Regions from separate parts of the Homo sapiens genome. Here region 2 is linked to region 1. Evidence: promoter capture Hi-C in human tissues and cell types (Jung and others, 2019). All regions are on one chromosome and are shown on one strand. Each heading gives the region's core, a stretch centred on a gene start or on the middle of the fragment in contact. The rest is flanking DNA. Distances are from core to core; before and after follow the strand shown.

The links. The method cuts DNA at HindIII sites, captures the fragments that hold promoters and counts their contacts. A contact is called where the count stands out against the background at its distance.
Region 2: a fragment that was not itself captured here is called in contact with the fragment with the promoter of MESP1 in region 1 in 1 of the 25 tissues and cell types used here (bladder).

The regions. Positions count from the first base shown.
Region 1 is chr15:89,748,949-89,754,917 of GRCh38, forward strand. It overlaps MESP1 (mesoderm posterior bHLH transcription factor 1), which reads right to left and starts at 2,301. Exons shown (of 2, transcript NM_018670.4): 1 at 1,561-2,301; 2 at 927-1,279. The coding sequence starts at 2,283. The coding sequence ends at 1,196. It also overlaps the pseudogene MRPL15P1. RefSeq lists silencers at 1,572-1,861, 1,922-2,351. The HindIII fragment of the contact is 13,666 bases long and covers 1-4,242 here.
Region 2 is chr15:90,239,752-90,245,720 of GRCh38, forward strand. It overlaps GDPGP1 (GDP-D-glucose phosphorylase 1), which reads left to right. Exons shown (of 4, transcript NM_001013657.3): 4 at 1,149-5,969. The coding sequence starts at 1,158. The coding sequence ends at 2,315. It also overlaps a transcript of CIB1 not described here. Among named protein-coding and RNA genes, the nearest start is that of TTLL13, 6.8 kb to the right of the region's middle. The HindIII fragment of the contact is 7,306 bases long and covers 1-4,903 here.

The sequences.
Region 1 (5,969 bases), core at 1,051-3,550:
GACACTTGAAGGAGAGGAGGGGAGAACTGGGTATCTATCCATAGAGGGTAAAGGACGCTTGGCAGAGAGGCTACACATCCCTTCTCCCCACCGCACCCTCTAATCATGACTGTTGCCCAGACACCCTGGCTGGATGAGGACACACTTTCTGGGCTCAAGCCTCCCGTTTCTTGCTCCCTGATGTGAATCCAGCCAATGCAGACAGGCACGCAACTGCCTGTGTGGATTCCGATGCAACCCCATGGGCCCCTCATCTCACCCCATCTAGGCCTGTAGGAGGTCATGGTTATATAAACTCAGGACCGCCACACCATTATTTATGTCTCTAAGCCACAAGGTGGGGAAACCAGAGAAAAGGCAGATGGGAAAATGCCGGCGGAGGGTGGGGGAGTTCCAAGGCCAGGATGCTCCCGTGCATGGAGAATAAGACCACAGGATGCAAGAAAATAACCCCTTGGAGCTGTTATCCCTCAGGCCCCAACATGTATGGAGCTGGCAAAATCCCACAAGAGCTGAGCGCTGGGACTCTGGAGGCCTACCTGGGCTTGAGCGCTGATCCTCATCCTTCTGTAAAATGGTTACTTGAGTATAATAGGTACCTGATGTACATACAATAAATACTCAATAATGGAGTTGTATTTCTACACAGATATTTTGGTTTTAACCAGTTCCCCACCAGGTTCAAAGAAAAGATGAGCAGATTCTACTTGCCGCTGCCTTCTCACAGGACGTCCCTCCCCACCCATTCCAGGCTGACCCATCTGGACTAGATGCTGAGCCAGGGCTGGGGGTAAGGCCAAAGGGGTCTGGGCCTGTGGGGGTCGGGGGGCTAAAGATTGCAAGAACCCCTCCCACCTCTCCCATGCTCTTCTTTGGAGGGAGAGAGGGAGCTCTGTGTCCACGGGTAGGAAGAAGAAATTGCCAACTGACACCAGTACAGTTTATTCACAAATAAATAAATTCACATTAGGCAGAGCCTCCTGCTTGCCTCAAAGTGTCTAGCCCTATGGGTCCCTCCATGGAGGGAGGGGCTGAGAAGGGCCGCCGCGGTGGGGACGGCTCTCACCCGCAGGAATGCCCCCGTCGGGATCGCCCGTGCCCTCTTCCAGGAAAGGCAGTCTGCCAAGGAACCACTTCGAAGGTGCTGAGGCCAAAAAGCCTCGGTGCTCACAGAGACGGCGTCAGTTGTCCCTTGTCACTTGGGCTCCTCAGGCAGCCACTCCAGAGGCGAGAGGGGCATCCAGGTCTCCAACAGAGCCAGCACGTCGCCCGGAAGGAGCTGTAGGGAGAGACGGAACAGCGCAGCCCTCAAGCACTGGTGGCCTTGTGCGGGTGTCCGCGCTCGTGGGCTCCACTCTCAGGGGGCCCCTAGCGAGGGGAGACCCAGTCCTCTGCGTGGCCTTTCCCTGCCTTCGCTTCTTGGAGCCCTGGGCATACTATGGTGGCCAGGTGGCCAGGCTGCCGGCGGGGAGCAGCAGGGTGCCTGGTCCTCACCTTGGCGGGCGGTGGGGCTGTGCGCGGGGGCACGGACGAAGGGGGCGCGGGGAAGGGGACACTAACCGGGGACGGTGGGCTTGGCTCCATCGCCTGCCCTTCAGGGCACGCCGCCTCGGCGAACAGCGCAGGCGGGTCGCGCGGCTCGGGTGCAGCTCGGGCTCCGGGGCAGGCAGGCGGGGATCCCCAGGACGCCCCGGCGCGGACGGCGGATACCAGGCCCAGCCCGCGCCCCTGCCCCTGCCCCTCAGCCTGCGTCCGTGTCTGCATCTGCGCGGGGCAGTCGTCGGGGCACAGCGGGCAGCCCCGAGGGGACCCCGCGTCACCGCGCTGCCGGCACCGGCGCTGGAGACTCTCCTCGCTGAGGCCTAGCACGGCCGACAGGTGGCCGATATAGCGGATAGCCAGGCGCAGCGTCTCGATCTTGGTCAGGCTCTGGCCCGCGGGCGCCACGGACGGCGGTAGAAAGCGGCGCAGCTCGTGCAGGGCGCGGGCCAGCGTGCGCATGCGCAGTTTCTCCCGCTCACTGGCGCTCTGCCTCTGCCCGCTGCCCAGGCGGCTGCTGCGCGCGCCGCGCCTACCTACGGAGGGGGCGCGGGGGTCCCGGAGGGTGCCTGGCCGCGCGGGGCTCGCCACGGGGCTGTCGGCTGGGGTGCTGCCCCATGAGTCTGGGGACGAGACGAGGGAGCGGCCGCAGTCCTTGTCGGAGGGCGGCGGCCGCCGAGTTGGGCCCCAGGCCGCAGAGAGCATCCAGGACTCGGAGAGCGGCGGGCACAGGGGCTGGGCCATGGCAGCGGCGGCGCGTCTGGGGGCCGGCGGCCGGCGGCCGCTTTATGCCGAGCCCGAGGTGTGAAGTGGCCCCTTCCAGGCCGCATCAGCACATCAAAGTGGGCTCGGGGCTTGGAGGGGGCGGAGCCTGACCCTTTGAATCCACGGCGGGGGGCCAAGGTGCCAGCCCCTTGACTGCGCCTGTTTCGCCCCACCTGGGCCCTCGCTTGGGCGCCCGACCCAGCCTCTCGGCCTTCCCGCCTGCGCCCAGTGTTGGGTGAAGCCCGGGGCGTTGGGCCAGCCCTGCAGGTTAAAGGAAGCGGGGTCAGAAAAACGAAATCTAGATCCTAGGTTTGGGGCCTGCCTTCACCTGTTGGGGACCTTATGCAAATTCTTAGTTCTTTTGCACCTTAGCTTCCAATTTGTATAATGAGAGCCTCAGGGCATGCGCCAATTGGACAGTGGAGTAGAGTAAGGACCAGGAGCAGGGACCCTCATTCCCTCTAAAGGTGGAGAAAACAGTAAACCACTTCTCCTTTGAGGCAGGATGGCCCTGGGTAGACCCTTCCCTGGTAAGAACATGTGGACAGTGCAAGGAAGCTTGCACCCCGGCAAATTCAATAAGCTGCCGAGTCTGGTCAGGATGCTGGACCTTCTGAGCAGAGGGAGGGGGTTAAGCCTGCTCCAACCCCAGGCCACCTCTAGCCTGGCAAGGTCTGGAGCTTGGCCTGTTGCCACAGCTGTCACCACTGGCCTTTACCTGATGTTCTGCCGCTATTGGACAGGTATAACAGGTTTTCCCAATGAAATGTGAGTGGAAATGACGCAGCAAAGGCATTTGACAAAATCCAACACCCTTCGTGATGAAAATTCTCAGCAAACTAAGAATAGAGAGGAATTTCATCAACCTGATGAAAGGCTCCTACAAAGAACCTACAGGTAGCCTCATACTGAGTAGTGAAAGACTGAAATCTTCCCCCCACCCCCCGATTGCAGGAACAAAGCGAGGGTGTCTCTCTTACCACTCCTATTCAACATTGTACCAGATGGAGGATCTAGGCTATGCAATTAGGAAACAAAAGACATACAGGTCAGAAAGGAAGAAATAAAACTCTTTTCGCAGGTTATGGCAGCTCTGGGCCCTGCTGCGCATGAGCCTGACCAATTTAAAGCGGAATCCTGGCTCCAGGAAACCCATGAGACGACCAAAAGGTCGGAGAAGAGGTAGAAAATGCGGCAGAGGCCATAAAAGAGAAAGGCAGAGAGGAAACTGGCTCTGCTGGGCTTTGGGGATGGCCAGACTCTATTTTACATCGGAATCCCAAAATACAGATTTAATGAAGGACTTAGCTTCAGACACCAGTATCAACCTTTAAGTATCAATAGACTGTAATATGTTACTGATTTGGGTCGTGTTGATCCTACTCAACCTATTGACTTAACCCAGCTTGTCAATGGAAGAGGTGTGACCATTCAGCCACTTAAAGAGGATTATGGTGTTCAGCTGGTCGAAAAGGCCGCAGACACCTTTCAGGTGAAAGTTAATATTGGGCCGGGCGCGGTGGCTCACACCTGTAATCCCAGCACTTTGGCAGGCCAAGGGGGGTGGATCATGAGGTCAGGAGATTGAGACCACCCTGGCCACCGTGGTGAAACCCCGTCTTATTAAAAATGCAAAAATTAGCCAGGCATGGTGGCACGTGCCTGTAGTCCCAGCTACTTGGGAGGCTGAGGTAGGAGAATCACTTGAACCCGGGAGGTGGAGGTTGCAGTGAGCTGAGATCATGCCACTGCACTCCAGTCTGATGACAGAGTGAGACCCCCTGTCCAAAAAAAAAAAAAAAAAAAAAAAAGTTAATATTGAAGTACAGTTGGCTTCAGAACTAGCTATTGCTGCAATTGAAAAAAATGGTGGTGGTGTCACTACAGCCTTACAGGATCCAAGAAGTCTGGAAATTCTATCCAAACCTGTTCCATTCTTTTTGGAGACAACCCATTCCAAAAAGAATGCTTCCTTCTGAAGCACTGGTACCATATTCCACCAATGCAAAGAATCGTGGGAACCTGGCAGATCCTGCCAAATTTCCTGAAGCACAACTTGAGCTTGCCAGGAAGGACAGTTCTAATTTACTGGATATCACGAAAGAAGAACTCTTCAAATGTTCAGTACTCAGAAGGATCCAAGGCAGATTTTCTTTGAGTTTGCTCCAGGATGGGTGCTGAATATAGTAGATAAGAAAATCCTAACATCTACAGATGAAAATCTCCTCAAGTACTAGAGCTCATGAATTCCCATCCAAGAAAGCAGAGTTGTTAAAGAATATTAGAAAAGGGCCAGGCACAATGGCTAACACCTGTAATCTCAGCACTTTGGGAGGCCGAAGAGGGTGGATCGTGAGATCAGGAGTTTGAGACCAGCCTGGCCAACATGGCGAAACCCCGTCTCTACTAAAAATACAAAAATTAGCCAGGCATGGTGGCAGACGCCGGCAATCCCAGCTACTCGGGAGGCTGAGGCAGGATAATCGCTTGAACCCGGGAGGCGGAAGTTATGGTAAGCCAAGATCGCTCCATTGCACTGCAGCCTGGATGAAATTTCACCTGGCCCCTCAGGAGTTTGAGTTTGCACCCTGGTCTTAATAGGTACTTCGTGCATGGCTATCTGCTCTCCAGCCAGACTGTGAAGTACCTGGTGTCTGGGTGTCTGGCATCATATCTTTACCTGTTTTCAAGCGGAATGGTTTCTTTCAGTGCCAGATGTCTGATTTTTTTTTTTTTTTTTTTTTTTGAGACAGGGTCTGGCTCTGTCGCTCAGGCTGGAGTGCTGTGGCGCAATCTTGGGTCACTGCAACCTCCGCCTCCTGGCCACATTGAAAGACAAAGAATTTTCTTGAATCACATATAAAATACAGTAATGAGGCTGGGCACCATGGGATCAAGCCAGTAATCCTAGCACTTTGGGAGGGCGAGGCAGGGGGATCACTTGAGGTCAGGAGTTCGAAACCAGCCTGGCCAACATGATGAAACCCTGTCTCTACTAAAAATACAAACAATTAACCTGGTGTGGTGGCGCATGCCTGTAGTCCCAGCTCTCGGGAGGCTGAGGCAGGAGAATCGCTTGAACCTGGGAAGTAAAGGTTGCAGGGAGCTGAGATTGTGCCATTGCACTCCAGCCTGGTGACAGAGCAAGATTCTGTCTAAAAAAAGAAAAAAAAAATACACTAATGATAGCTACTGCACTAACAAAATTGCAAAAAAAAAAAAAAAAACTCATAATGTTTTAAGGAGTTTACGGAATGTTTAAGAAGTTTATTTGTGTTGGGCCACATTCAAAGCCATCCTGGGCCGTGGGTTGGACAAGCTTGGTGTACACCAAACCACTCATCGTCCCCTCCCTCCTCCACCCCCTTTCCTCCCTACCCCTCCACTCACCCCTCGCCCATCTTCTCTGCTTAACTGGCCTGGTTCTCAGCAATACCAGCTTTCTTCATGGTATGAAATTGCAGGGATTCCCACTTCACCTTCTCCTTCCAAGCCGTCACCAGATGACATCCCTTCTTTCTGTATTTTCTTCAGGTCCACCTCTTTCTTTGCTTTTCTTTCCATTACCCGAATCCAGTCTTTCTCCCAACTTCCTTCACCCAGTCTAATCTTCTGTAGGAAACATTTCTTCCATCTTCCCTTCAATCTACATTCTTTCCTCTGGC
Region 2 (5,969 bases), core at 1-2,500, 490 kb after region 1:
AGGCTGGACTGCAATGGTGCGATCTCGGCAGTGCCTGGTGGCACATGCCTGTAGTTCCAGATACTTGGGATGCTGAGGTGAAAGAATCCCTTGAGCCTGGGAGGTCAAGGCTTCAGGGAGACATGTATGCACCACTGCACTCCTGCCTGGGTGACAGAGTGAGAACCTGTTTCAAAATAAAATAGGCCGTGGCTGGGCGCAGTGGCTCACACCTGTAATCCCAGCACTTTGGGAAGCCGAGGTGGGTGGATCACCTGAGGTCAGGAGTTCAAGACCAGCCAGACCAACATGGTGAAACCCTGTCTCTACCAAAAATACAAAATTAGCTGGCTGTGGTGGCACATTCCTATAATCCCAGCTACTTGGGAGGCTGAGGCCAGAGAATCGCTTGAACCTGGGAGGTAGAGGTTGCAGTGAGCCAAGATAGCGCCATTGCACTCCAGCCTGGGTGACAGAGTGATAAATAAATAAATAGGCCAGGTGCAGTGGCTCAGGCCTGTAATCCCAGCACTTTGGGAAGCCGAGAGGGGAGGGTCACCGGAGGTCAGGAGTTCAAGACCGGCCTGGCCAATGTGGTGAAACCCTGCCTCTACTAAAAATACAAAAATTAGCCGGGCCTGGTGGCGGGTGCCTGTAATTCCAGCTGCTTGGGAGGCTGAGGCATGAGAATCACTTGAACCCAGGAGGTGGAGGTTGCAGTGAGCCAAGATCGCGCCACTGCCCTCTAGCCTGGGCAACAGAGTGAGACTCTGTCTCAAAAAAATAAAAATAAATAAATAAGCTGTGCATGTTGGTTCATGCCTGTAATCCCAGCACTTTGGGAGGCCAAGGCAAAGGGATCACCCGATGTCAGGAGTTCAAGACCAGCCTGGCCAACATGGTGAAACACCATCTCTACTAAAAATACAAAAATTACCCGGGCATGGTGGTGCCTGCCTGTAACCCCAGCTGCCCAGGAGGCTGAGGCGGGAGAACCGCTTGAACCCAGGAGGCGGAGGTTACAGTGAACCAAGATCACTGCCACTGCACTCCAGCCTGGGTGACAGAGTGAGACTCCATCTCAAAAAAAAAAATAAATAAATAAATACAATGACAATCTCTGGAGGTGGGTTACCATCATGTGTTTTCATCTTTTATGACTATTTCAGGTCAGCTCTATGGCTCTTCCACATGATTCAAACGAAACTTCCTATTTGCTGCCTCCCAACAATGAGGACTGGGGCAGGCAAACCATTCCTGACTTTGTTTATGGGCAGAAGGATCTCATGGCAGAAGGGATTCAGTGGCCAAGGAATGCACCTGGCATCCCAGATGCTCTGCCACAATCTCCCTTTGATGCTGCACTCTGCTCTGCCTGGAAGCAGCGGGTGGAGCTGGGGCTGTTTCGCTACCGTCTACGGGAGCTACAGACCCAAATCCTCCCTGGTGCTGTGGGTTTCGTGGCTCAGCTGAATGTGGAGCGTGGTGTGCAGAGGAGGCCCCCGCAGACCATCAAGAGTGTGAGGCAGGCATTTGACCCTGTACAGTTCAACTTCAACAAGATCCGGCCCGGAGAAGTCCTCTTCCGTTTGCACCGGGAGCCTGATCTCCCTGGGACTCTGCTGCAAGAAGACATCCTGGTGGTGATCAACGTCAGCCCCCTGGAGTGGGGCCACGTGCTGCTGGTGCCTGAGCCTGCCCGCCAGCTCCCCCAGCGCCTGCTGCCGGGTGCACTGAGGGCAGGGATTGAGGCTGTGCTGCTGAGCTTACACCCGGGCTTCCGTGTCGGCTTCAACAGCCTGGGAGGCTTGGCCTCGGTGAACCACCTCCACCTGCATGGCTATTACCTGGCCCACAGACTGCCCGTGGAGCAGGCGCCAAGCGAGCCCCTGGACCCTGGAGGCCATTTGCATCTGCTCCAGGACCTCCCAGCTCCTGGCTTCCTCTTTTACACTCGTGGGCCAGGGCCTGACTTGGAGTCCTTGATAAGCAGGGTATGTCGGGCCACTGATTATCTGACTGACCATGAGATTGCTCATAACTTGTTTGTCACCCGGGGAGCTCCGCCGGGAAAGACATCACCTTCCTCAGCCCTCACAGGGGTCCGAGTAATTCTGTGGGCCCGGAAGTCCAGCTTTGGGATAAAGGACGGTGAAGCTTTCAATGTTGCCCTCTGTGAGCTGGCTGGGCACCTCCCTGTCAAAACATCCCAGGACTTCAGCAGCCTGACAGAGGCAGCTGCTGTGGCCCTCATTCAGGACTGTCGGCTGCCCCCATCCCAGGCAGAAGACGTACAGGCAGCACTGGTGGCCCTGATGTCCCAGGAAGAGCAATAATACTTCTGGATGTATTTATGTTCTTTTTTTCTTTTCTTTTGAGATAGGGTCTCACTCTGTCCCCAGGCTAGAGTGTAGTGGTATGATCCTGGCTCACTGTAGCCTCCACCTCTGGGGCTGAAGTGATCCTCCCACCTCAGCCTCTTGAGTAGCTGAGACTATAGGCGTGCACCACCACACACCTGGCTTTTTTTTTTTTTTTTTTTTTTTTTAACGATTAGGTGATTTTGTATTTTTTTATATAGACAGCGTTTCACCATGTTGCCCAGGCTGGTCTTGAACTCTTGGGCTGAAGCAGTCCTCCCACCTCGGCCTCCCAAAGTACTGAGATGACAGGAGTGAGCCCCTGGATTCTTTTCTGTTTCTTTTTTTTTTTTTTTTTTTTTTTTTTTTTTTGAGATAGTCTCGCTCTGTCACCTAGGTTGGGGTGCACTGGTACAATCTCGGCTCACTGCAACCTCCACCTCTAGGGTTCGAGTGATCCTCCTGGCTCAGCCTCCCGAGTAGCTGGGACTATACAGGCTCCTGCCACCAAACCCGGCTAATTTTTTTGTATTTTTAAAAGAGAAGGGGTTTCACCACATTGGCTAGGCTGGTCTTGAACTCCTGACTTTAGGTGATCCGCCCGCCTCGGCCTCCCAAAGTGCTGGGATTACAGGCGTGAGCCACCACACCCAGCCAGGATGTATTCATTTTCTACCTGATGAGTCCCTTTCCAGAGCACTGTCCATCATAGTCCTTTGGACATTTATTTTCATGGCTGCCTTCTCACCTGTCTCAGCCTAAGAAGAAGGATGAAGAAAGCTGATAATGATCTCTTAAAGGGGAGAAAGATAATGGTCTCTTTAAAGGGGAGCTGATAGTGGTCTCTTTAAAGGGGAGAAAATCTGGAATAATTCTACTGAGTAAGACATCATGAATGTATCTGCTACCTCTCCCCGTTCTTGTTCAAGCCCCAGGGGTGTTAAAAAGGAGTGTGTGTGACAGTTACACACTCCTGACTTTACATTTAGATTTTGTCTTCCTTTGATATCAAATGTTAGCACGGTAATAGTGCCTGTGCCTCCAGTATTGAGCTGCCACTTCTGTTCTCAGCCTGTTTATTCCCCTTTGCTCACCACTTATTTTTATTGCTTTGTCCCTTCTTTCCATTTAGCCCTGCTCCACCCAAATGCCCCACTCCTTCACTTTCCCTGCCACCTTGAGCTTTCCTCTAGCCCCCAACACCAAGTTGAATGCTCTTCACTGACATCATCTGATGTAAAAACACAGTGTTGTCACAACTTTCCGGGTGCACGTCTTTTTTTGTTTTGTTTTTTTGTAAGGCTGGGGTGCAGTGGTGCAATCACAGCTCACTGCAGACCCAAACTCTTGGTCTCAAGCCACCCTCCCACCTCAGCCCCCTGAGTAGCTGGGACGATAGGTGTGCACCATCACACCTGGCTAATTTTTAAATTTTTTGTAGAGATAGGGTCTTGCTATGTTGCCCGGGTTGCTGTCAAACTCCTGGCCTTAAGAAATCCTCCCACCTCGGCCTCCCAGAGTGCTAAGATGCCACCACACCTTGGTGCAGGTTTTTTTTTTTTTTTTTTTTTTTTTTTTTTGACACAGGGTCACTGTCACCCAGGCTGGAGTGCAGTGGTATGAAGACAGCTAACTGCAAGCTTCAACCTCCTGGGCTCAAACAATACTCCCATCTCAGCCTCCCTAGTAGCTGGGACCACAGGCATGCGCCACCACACCCGGCTATTTTTTTGGAGAGATAGCATCTTGCCAAGTTGCCCAGGCTGGTCTCGAACTCCTGGCCTCAAGATCCTCCCACCTCAGCCTCCCAAAGTGCTGAGATTATAGGCATGAGCCACTGCACCTGGCCTGAGTTTTTTTTTTTTTTTCTTGAATCAGAGTTTCACTCTGTTGCCCAGGCTGGAGTGCAGTGGTGTGATCTCGGCTCACTGCGTCTCTGCCTCCTGGGTTCAAGCAATTCAGCCTGAGTCTTCTTAATACCCCCATTCAAAACGGGATGGAGACTGACAGTTTGTACTTTGTTCAAGGTCAGGCAGCTGGAGTCGGGACTGCAGCACAGGCAGGTACCAGAAGATGAGCTGGGACAATGTGTGCTTGTGACCGCCTCTCCAGTCAGTGGTTCCCATGGTGGGTAGCACTGTCCTTAACAGTTTGCCCTCCCTGAGCCTCAGCCATCCCTCTTGGGGTCTTTCCCAAGCACTTTAGAAGCTCCTCTTGATGTAGACACAAAATCCAAAGCTAAGTCGTTGTTCCTCCGTCTGCATCTGAGTCAATGTGGGAAATTTTTTTTTATCTCATTGCTTTGTTCTGTCCTGTTTCTCCAGACATTTCACACTGGTTCCAGAGGAACTAGTCAGTAGACACTATTCTAAGAGAGTATGTGGGTGTGAAATCTCATTTTCCTTTTAGCTCCCTTGAATGTTATACAGCAAAAGTAAAAGAAGTCTTGGGTTGGCTGGGCACGTTGGCTCACACCTTTAATCCTAGCACTTTGGGAAGCCGAGGCAGGCAAATCACTTGTCAGGAGTTCGAGACCAGCCTGGCCAACATGGTGAAACCCCATCTCTACTAAAAATACAAAAATTAGGCGTTGTGGCGGCCACCTGTAATCCCATCTACTTGGGAGGCTGAGGCAGGAGAATCACTTGAACCCAGGAGGCGGAGGTTGCAGTGAGCTGAGATTGCACGACTGTACTCCAGCCTGGGCGATAGTGCGAGACTCAGTCTCAAAATAAATAAATACATAAAGTCTTGGGTCCAGCTCTCAACAGAGATTATCACCGCCACCACTCCTTCATCAAACATCCTGAAGGAATGAGAGTCCCTGTTCACAGCGTAAGGGTGAAAGGGGGCTCACACAGGTGGGTTCTGGCTGCTGTCTGAGTGGGCTCACCCAGGAGGGGTTTTGATTTCTCTGCCTCCCAAACTGTGGGTCCTAGCCCTGGCTTAGGCCTTCAGGTCGTTGGCTCCCTATACCTAGGCCTGTATAAAGCCTTAGTTTCCAGTTTTCATTAGAGGTTTTACATCCCAAATGATGTTACAAAGTCTCCCTGTGATAAAGCAGAATATGTGTCCATAGCCCATTTTATAAGAAAAACAGTTTAGGCCAGGTGCGGTGGCTCACGCCTGTAATCCCAGCACTTTGGGAGGCTGAAGCAGGCAGATCACAAGGTCAGGAGTTCAAGACCAGCCTGGCCAACATGGTGAAACCCCGTCTCTACTAAAAACACAAAAATTAGCTGGGTGTGGGTGCACATCTATAGTCCCAGCTACTCAGGAGGCTGAGGCAGGAGAATCGCTTGGACCTGGGAGGCGGAGGTGGCAGTGAGCCGAGATCGCGCCACTGCACTCCAGCCTGGGCGGCAGAGAGAGACTTTGTCTCAAAAAAAAAAAAAAAGAAAAAAACAGTTTACCATTCTATCAGAAAATGTTGACCACCCTCATATTTTTGGTAAACTGCAGTAATTTTTCCTTAATACTTTTTGCAAGCTTTTGCATGCATAAGCTCCAGTATCACACTTAATTTTGCTTGCTTGCTCTCTGAAGGGAGTTCGGATGACCATTACAGCAAAGTGGATTTTGCGTTCAAAGTGATAAGCCAAATATCAGGATTTTCCCAGTTTCTCCGTA